2 separate regions of the Homo sapiens genome follow, and region 1 is linked to region 2. The links are contacts of gene promoters, found by promoter capture Hi-C in blood cells and fetal thymus (Javierre and others, 2016). All regions are on one chromosome and are shown on one strand. Each heading gives the region's core, a stretch centred on a gene start or on the middle of the fragment in contact. The rest is flanking DNA. Distances are from core to core; before and after follow the strand shown. Region 1 overlaps CMAS (cytidine monophosphate N-acetylneuraminic acid synthetase). Region 2 holds the start of LDHB (lactate dehydrogenase B).

Region 1 (3,330 bases), core at 15-2,514, 400 kb before region 2:
AAATCCACAGGATATCGTCCTTTTCTAAAATGGTACACCTATTATCTAGGGAATCTTTCTTGCTGCAAGATCCTTTGGGAAACATTAGATAGCTCCCATTTAAAAGTAGTTATGTTTATATTTACTGAATAAACAAGAAATATTATTTGCTGATTAACAAATTCCTAATTCTACTCATCTAAAACTAAATAGTATAATAATTTTCTAGGCGTATGAAGGCCAAATTTCAGATATTTTAAGAGTTAATACTAAAAATTTAAATCTCTTAATTCCTTGCATGTTCTTTGACCCTGAATCAAAATATTATAAAATACTGCTATATTCAGGGAGCACATACCTCAATACCACTTTTCTTTAATAAACTTATCCCAATAGCATCTTTTACATCATAAGATATTATTTCTTTTTGGTCTCCTGATACATAAATGTGGCCATTGGTGAGACATCCATCAATATTGCAAACCAAAAGTTTTATTTCCTTAAGCTTCTCTTTGCCAAAATAGCCATATCTAAAAGAAACCAAAATAGACCTTTGAGTACAAGTGCAGTACTAATCACTCCCTCTCATCTGGCTAAACCAATACATGAAATGTCACCCTCCATTCAATTATTCAAACATTACTCTCCAAATTTACTTCACATATATATTTTAACATATAGTACAGTAAGTAAAAGTAGTGTGGTCTAGCCAGATAATGTTTCTCACTTTATTGAAGCCATGTAAACACATATTTTACATGTCTTCCTCACATGAACAAAGTAATTACAAAGATCCTAAGATGTCTGAAGTATCAGAAATCAGTATCTAGAAATATAATTATTAAGATTTAGTACAAAGGTTATAAAGGTTTATTTGTTTTTACCTTAATACTCTTTGCTCTGCAATAGGCCAATCAATATCCACATCTATATCCACACTATGTTCAGCTCGCATTTCGTAGTATGCCATTTTTCCACCCTAAAGGTAGTATAAATGTCATGAATACTGTTTTTAATATTCATTCACATATATCAAAACTTTATTATAATACAGAACAATGAATTCATTTCTACAGTACTGAGAAAAATGAATAACCCAGTAAAAATCAGTCACATAAAAATGATTTTTAAATTTATTTTTACTTTTTTATTTTTTCGAGTCAGGGTTTCACTCTGCCTCCCAGGCTGGAGTGCAATGGTGCAATCATAGCTCATTATAACCTTGAAATCTTAGGCTCAAGCAATCCTCCCACCTCAGCCTCCTAAGGATCTGGTACTACAGGTATACAGCACCATGTCCGGCTAAATTTTTAAAAAGTTTTTTGTAGATATAAGATCTTGCTATGTTGCCAAGGCTGGTCTTGGAAACCTGGCCTCAAGCTATCCTCTTGAGGCCTCAAGCTGGCCTCTCAAAGTGCTGGGATGACATGCTTCAGCCACCACGCCCAGCTTTTTTTTTTTTTTTTTTTTTTTTTTTAAGGAGAAAGCTCACACAAAAGAAATAACCTTAACATTTTTCAAATTCTATCTAAACAGTTCAAGTTCCCTATTTAAGAAAATTTCTATTTTAATATTGAAAAAAGCAGAAATATTACATCCTCCAGGTTTCTGACCACAAGGGATTTTGTGGAAATCCCTTAATCATATCCTCCTTTTTTTCAAGAAGTCTCTCCTGTCATCATCCAAAAGCAGTATTAAGGTTTTTGGAACTTCTGTTCTAATTTGCAACTAACAGGCAACACAGGGGAGGAAAAATAACTGTAGCATCTGTTGTACAGAGTTTTCTTAGATCTCTGAGCTACTGATGAAAATGACTAATAGTCATCCAAGTCACATGCAGGCAAAGGCAAGGGCAGTCTCTTGATTCTAGGCAAGGGTCAGCAAGAGAAAGGGTCTTTCTTCTGATAGTAATTATTTGAATGACAAGATCAATTACTGGACAATTTCAATTTCATTTTTTTTTTCAGAATTGTCAGTCTCTTCATAAACCTTGTTTTAATGAGAAACATTTTTCTCCACACTTTAGGAATGGGTTAATCATGGTCCTCCTTAGAAAAAAGCTTAAAAATGGTAGTATCTATGTGTGTCAAATCCAATTTTTCTGAACACTTAAATTTAACTAAACAGCTAGTCTATAGTTTGCCTACACATTGACCAGAAGATTTGTAAAAATGTTTTTCTCTCTTTTGCTCAGAATAATAGTCCCATTAGAATTTTTATTACACAATGGAGAGGTTTCTCTCTCTCTCTTTAAAACCGCTATTTCTTGAGTAACATAAGAACCTGAATCCAAATCCTGACAGTACCATTTATTAGCTGTTTTTGCCTTGAGTCAATTACTTCATATTTCAGTGAGGCAGTTTTCCTCCTCTGTAAAACTGGGTAGAAATGTCCACTTCATTCATTCGCTATGCAGATTACATAAGATAACATATGCAAAGTGTTTCACCTACTCCGAAGTACACAGTAAATAATAAATAATAATGATAACTAAAATTAACAAGTTAAGAAATATATGATGCAACCATGTTGCAGGCTCTAAAATGAGAGAGACATTAAATCTGTTATTTGAAAATGAGAGTCAGGACAGATAAAATGATACATATTCAAGCTTACATAGTAAGAGGCAGTTGACTTAAAGTATAATAAAAAAAAAAAAAAATATATATATATATATATATAAAAAGATTCCGGGTTTCCTGACACCCAGGTTGTAACTCTTTTCACCTCTATGAAATTATTTGTCTTTTTAAAGCAATAGAAGTTATTCAACCCTACAGCCACAATATAACTATAACACAAACATGGATTACGTAGTTTTGAGTGGAATAATATGAGTACCAGGACATGTGTAGACACCCAGTACTTGATTCATTTTTTTATCGTTGTAGCAGAATTCCTTGCATATTTACTGAATGGATTCCAAAGATCACTTTGGGGTAAACCTGCAGGATAAATGCCTCAGATAGCAAATGTTGTTGGCTATTACCTTTCCTCTATAGGTTGATACTTTTCTTTATCATAAAGAAATTGTACCATACTTCTTCCCTAGAACTCAAAGTATGCCTACAAAAGCGCTTAAAAGGGTTATGCAAAATGAAGGTACAAACCTGCAAGTAACCCATCTCTATCAAATGTCTTTTAGCAAAATAAAATGAGCCATTTTCATATAATTCTCCATCCCAGTCTTGTCGACGAGGCCGTTTAGCTGGATTTAAATTCAGAGGTTCGGTCACTTCACGAACTAAAAGCAAAAAGTTAGAGTAAGTCCACGTTGCCCTGAATATAGAAAGTGTTAATTTAGTAACTAAAAAAGTTAATAAAAATGAACTCAGAATGCAGAGCATTTCT
Region 2 (3,214 bases), core at 328-2,827:
AAAAGAAATCTAGGGTACCTTCTAGATAACTTGCTAGGCTGACTTGGCTATTCTTGCTTCAAACTTGGATTTAGGGTTAATGTAATACTTTTGAGATTATCCTCCAAGCTCTTTTCCTCACCATCACATTTTAATTTGTAATTGGACTGTATCTTCAGTCAAAGTCCCCACTAGCTGAATGATTTATGCTAGGAGAGTTTGAGGCTTATGAATTCTTCTCAACAAACCCTTCTCTTAGTGATTCTTTACTCTGAATTTTTATTGTACTTTAACCAAATTTCTATTGCCACTTATTGTAATTGAAATAGGTTGCCTACTTGTCTGTCTCCAATGGACTAGGAACACCTCAAAGGGCATAATCTTATATTTATGTTTTTTACCAATGCTTGGCACTGAGAATAAACTGAAGCAATAATTATAGAATTAGTGGTCATATACAAGAAATATGCATTTACAAAAAAAAACACTTCACATACAGGAAGTTTGTGAGATGGCTATATTTGAAAGCATTTTAATTATAAGAAAACAGAACTGAAGCCAGACTCTTCAGAATTCCTCCAATTTATCATTCATTCATTTATTCATCAATGCTATATTTAGGTACCAAGCACTGGCTGAGTGTTGAAGACAGAATGAATGACAACATCCAGCTTTGGAGTCGATTAGGGACTAAAAAAGAAAGTGCATCTCACTTAGTGGTCCCACATTTCCCCTAGAGGGCAAAGCCTGACCTTGAGACCAGGTGGAATTGTAGGGGAACTTCAGATGGCAGGGACAAAGCCTCATTGGTCTTGTCAGGCAACGAGTAAGCAATCATTGCGTGTTTGTTGAAACAGGTTGAAAAAAATAGTCATTTTCATCAAATGAACTTTAAAACGGAGATGATCTAAATTCAGATGTATTTTTTTAAGTCCTTTAAAGTTTAACTGAAATGCAACATAGAAATTTATTTCTGGCCGGGCGCGGTGGCTCAGGCCTGTAATCCCAGCACTTTGGGAGGCCGAGGCGGGCGGATCACGAGGTCAGGAGATCGAGACCATCCTGGCTAACACGGTGAAACCCCCCTCTCTACTAAAAATACAAAAAATTAGCCGGGCGAGGTGGCGGGCGCCTGTAGTCCCAGCTACTCGGGAGGCTGAGGCAGGAGAATGTCGTGAGCCCGGGAGGCGGAGCTTGCAGTGAGCCGAGATCGCGCCACTGCACTCCAGCCTGGGCGACAGAGTGAGACTCCGTCTCAAAATAAAAAAAAGAAGGAAAGAAATTTATTTCTATTTGTACTAAATCTAATAGAACAAGAGCGTTAAAGTCCAGAAGAGTCGGGGATGGGCAAGTTTTATAAATAACTTGGCCTCCGCATTGAAGAGCCTGCGAGATGTGAGACCAGCTGAGAGCGGAAGCCTCTGGAAGGAGACCTCCTCATCTGGAGGGTGGGGGAGGGAGTGTGCATACTTGAGCCCTTGTCCTTGAAGGGGATTGAGCGAGCCGAGGGGAGGGGTAGGCGGTACTCGGATTTCCAATCACAATGGAGAAACCTAAGAGGCTGCGGTGGTTGTGGGGCCCCGCCCCCTCCTCCCTCCTTGCAGAGCCGGCGCCGGAGGAGACGCACGCAGCTGACTTTGTCTTCTCCGCACGACTGTTACAGAGGTCTCCAGAGCCTTCTCTCTCCTGGTAGGTTTCGGCTCAGGACCCTGAATCCTGGCCCACAGGCAAGCCTGATGGGACGTGCGGGGTAGTACTTGTATGGGGAGACGCGGGAAGGAGGAAGAAGCACATCTGTCCTCCGCGGCCTTTAGCTCTGAGCATCCGGCCGCGGGCCCTGACTTTGCCGCTCAGTTTGGGGCGCAGGGGGGGCCGTGCCCTGGCGGAGGAGCAGAAGGCAGAGGGTAGCAGCTGCGGCTCAGCGGAGAGACTTGTTGCATTTGCAGCTAAAACCAGGCCCTACTTGTCCTTGGTGGGTTCATGGCGGCCACATCACCCCCACGGCCTGCTGGCGGGAGTCGGGACACGTGCCCGAGTAGCTGGGGGAGGGGGACGGAACCAGGTGGCCTATGAAGGCTGGACGATCTTTACCTCGAATATTTGAATATATTGCCACGGTAATAGAGAAATGCCCTTGCACTCGCTGGGATGAGGAGAAAGGCACCTAGATGACCAGCACGTTTGGCGCTGCACTTATTTTTACCCGGCTCTGACGGTCTTTCCAGGAGCCATGCGCCAGTTCTTTCCTGCAGGGCCTCTTTTCTGGATGCTTAGGGGCTTCGTTTACTTTACCAGCCTTGGGTGCTCCGAGTAAGGAAGTCCTAGACTTGTCCCCACAGACCTTACTCGGGGAGATCTCTAGCTTCTGCATGCCCTCGTGATCTGCTGTTCTTTGCTGCCGGTGCCCTGAGGAAAAGATGGTTTGTGCGCACCGCGAGCAGTACAAGCTGCAGTAAGGGCCTGGGGAATGGGGGGAGGGGAGGAATTCAAAAGCAAAACCTGAATTTTTAAAAGATTACGGTGAGAAAGATTCTGCAAAGAAGATCTTTGTTCCTGAAATTAAGGCGCTCCTTTATTTCTAATGATTTATATCCACAGCAGTGAGGAGACATAAGGGACCAAGACTCAGAGATTTTTACCGTTTGTCGTTCTTGTTCCTTACAGCCTGCACTCTGATGTTGGCACAGGCCTGTATATCATGCAGACCATTTTCTTCTCATTTCTTAAAACTCTTTTTAAGGAAAAATTGAAGAAAAGCACTTTCTCCAGAAATATCTGAAAGAAAATCTGGTTCGAGCCTTTAAATTGTACTTCCTGAAGTTTTCTAAATTAAAAGGTCTATCAGAACAACGAATCTGTATTTATATAGCCACTGTTTCTTCATTTTCATTTTCCACTGCTTCCTGGGCCCCCTGTATACCAAAACGGTCGTAAACAGACCATCTAACAACAATAAACTTAAGTGCAGAACAACTATTCATGTGTGTCGTCCTTCAAAAAGAGATGCAGCATTCTTTCTTCTGAGCCTGTTTAAAATGCAGGCCATGTCTGAATTTATTTCATTTTAAGGTCATCTATTTGTGGAGGCACTTGCACAACATTGCATCTTCTCTCTTTAACGTCCACTAGGAAACTGTAAATGTGATCTGTAAAGGCGAAAGAATCTCCTTTTAATTTATCCTTACAGATGGGAGGAAATATTTTTTGGAAAAAAAACTATAAGATAAAATAGTTG

Evidence for each region. Contacts are between HindIII fragments. The CHiCAGO score rates a contact against its expected background, and 5 or more counts as called.
Region 1: a fragment that was not itself captured here is called in contact with the fragment with the promoter of LDHB in region 2 in 4 of 17 cell types (naive CD4 T cells, fetal thymus, activated CD4 T cells and 1 more); the score reaches 5.9 in naive CD4 T cells.

Annotation. Positions count from the first base shown.
Region 1 is chr12:22,058,460-22,061,789 of GRCh38, reverse strand. It overlaps CMAS (cytidine monophosphate N-acetylneuraminic acid synthetase), which reads right to left. Exons shown (of 8, transcript NM_018686.6): 4 at 3,090-3,223; 5 at 864-958; 6 at 338-509. Among named protein-coding and RNA genes, the nearest start is that of CMAS, 14 kb to the right of the region's middle. The HindIII fragment of the contact is 1,555 bases long and covers 487-2,041 here.
Region 2 is chr12:21,656,205-21,659,418 of GRCh38, reverse strand. It overlaps LDHB (lactate dehydrogenase B), which reads left to right and starts at 1,577. Exons shown (of 8, transcript NM_002300.8): 1 at 1,577-1,668. RefSeq lists enhancers at 1,096-1,275, 1,150-1,678, 1,656-1,905, 1,936-2,025. The HindIII fragment of the contact is 8,571 bases long and covers 1-3,214 here.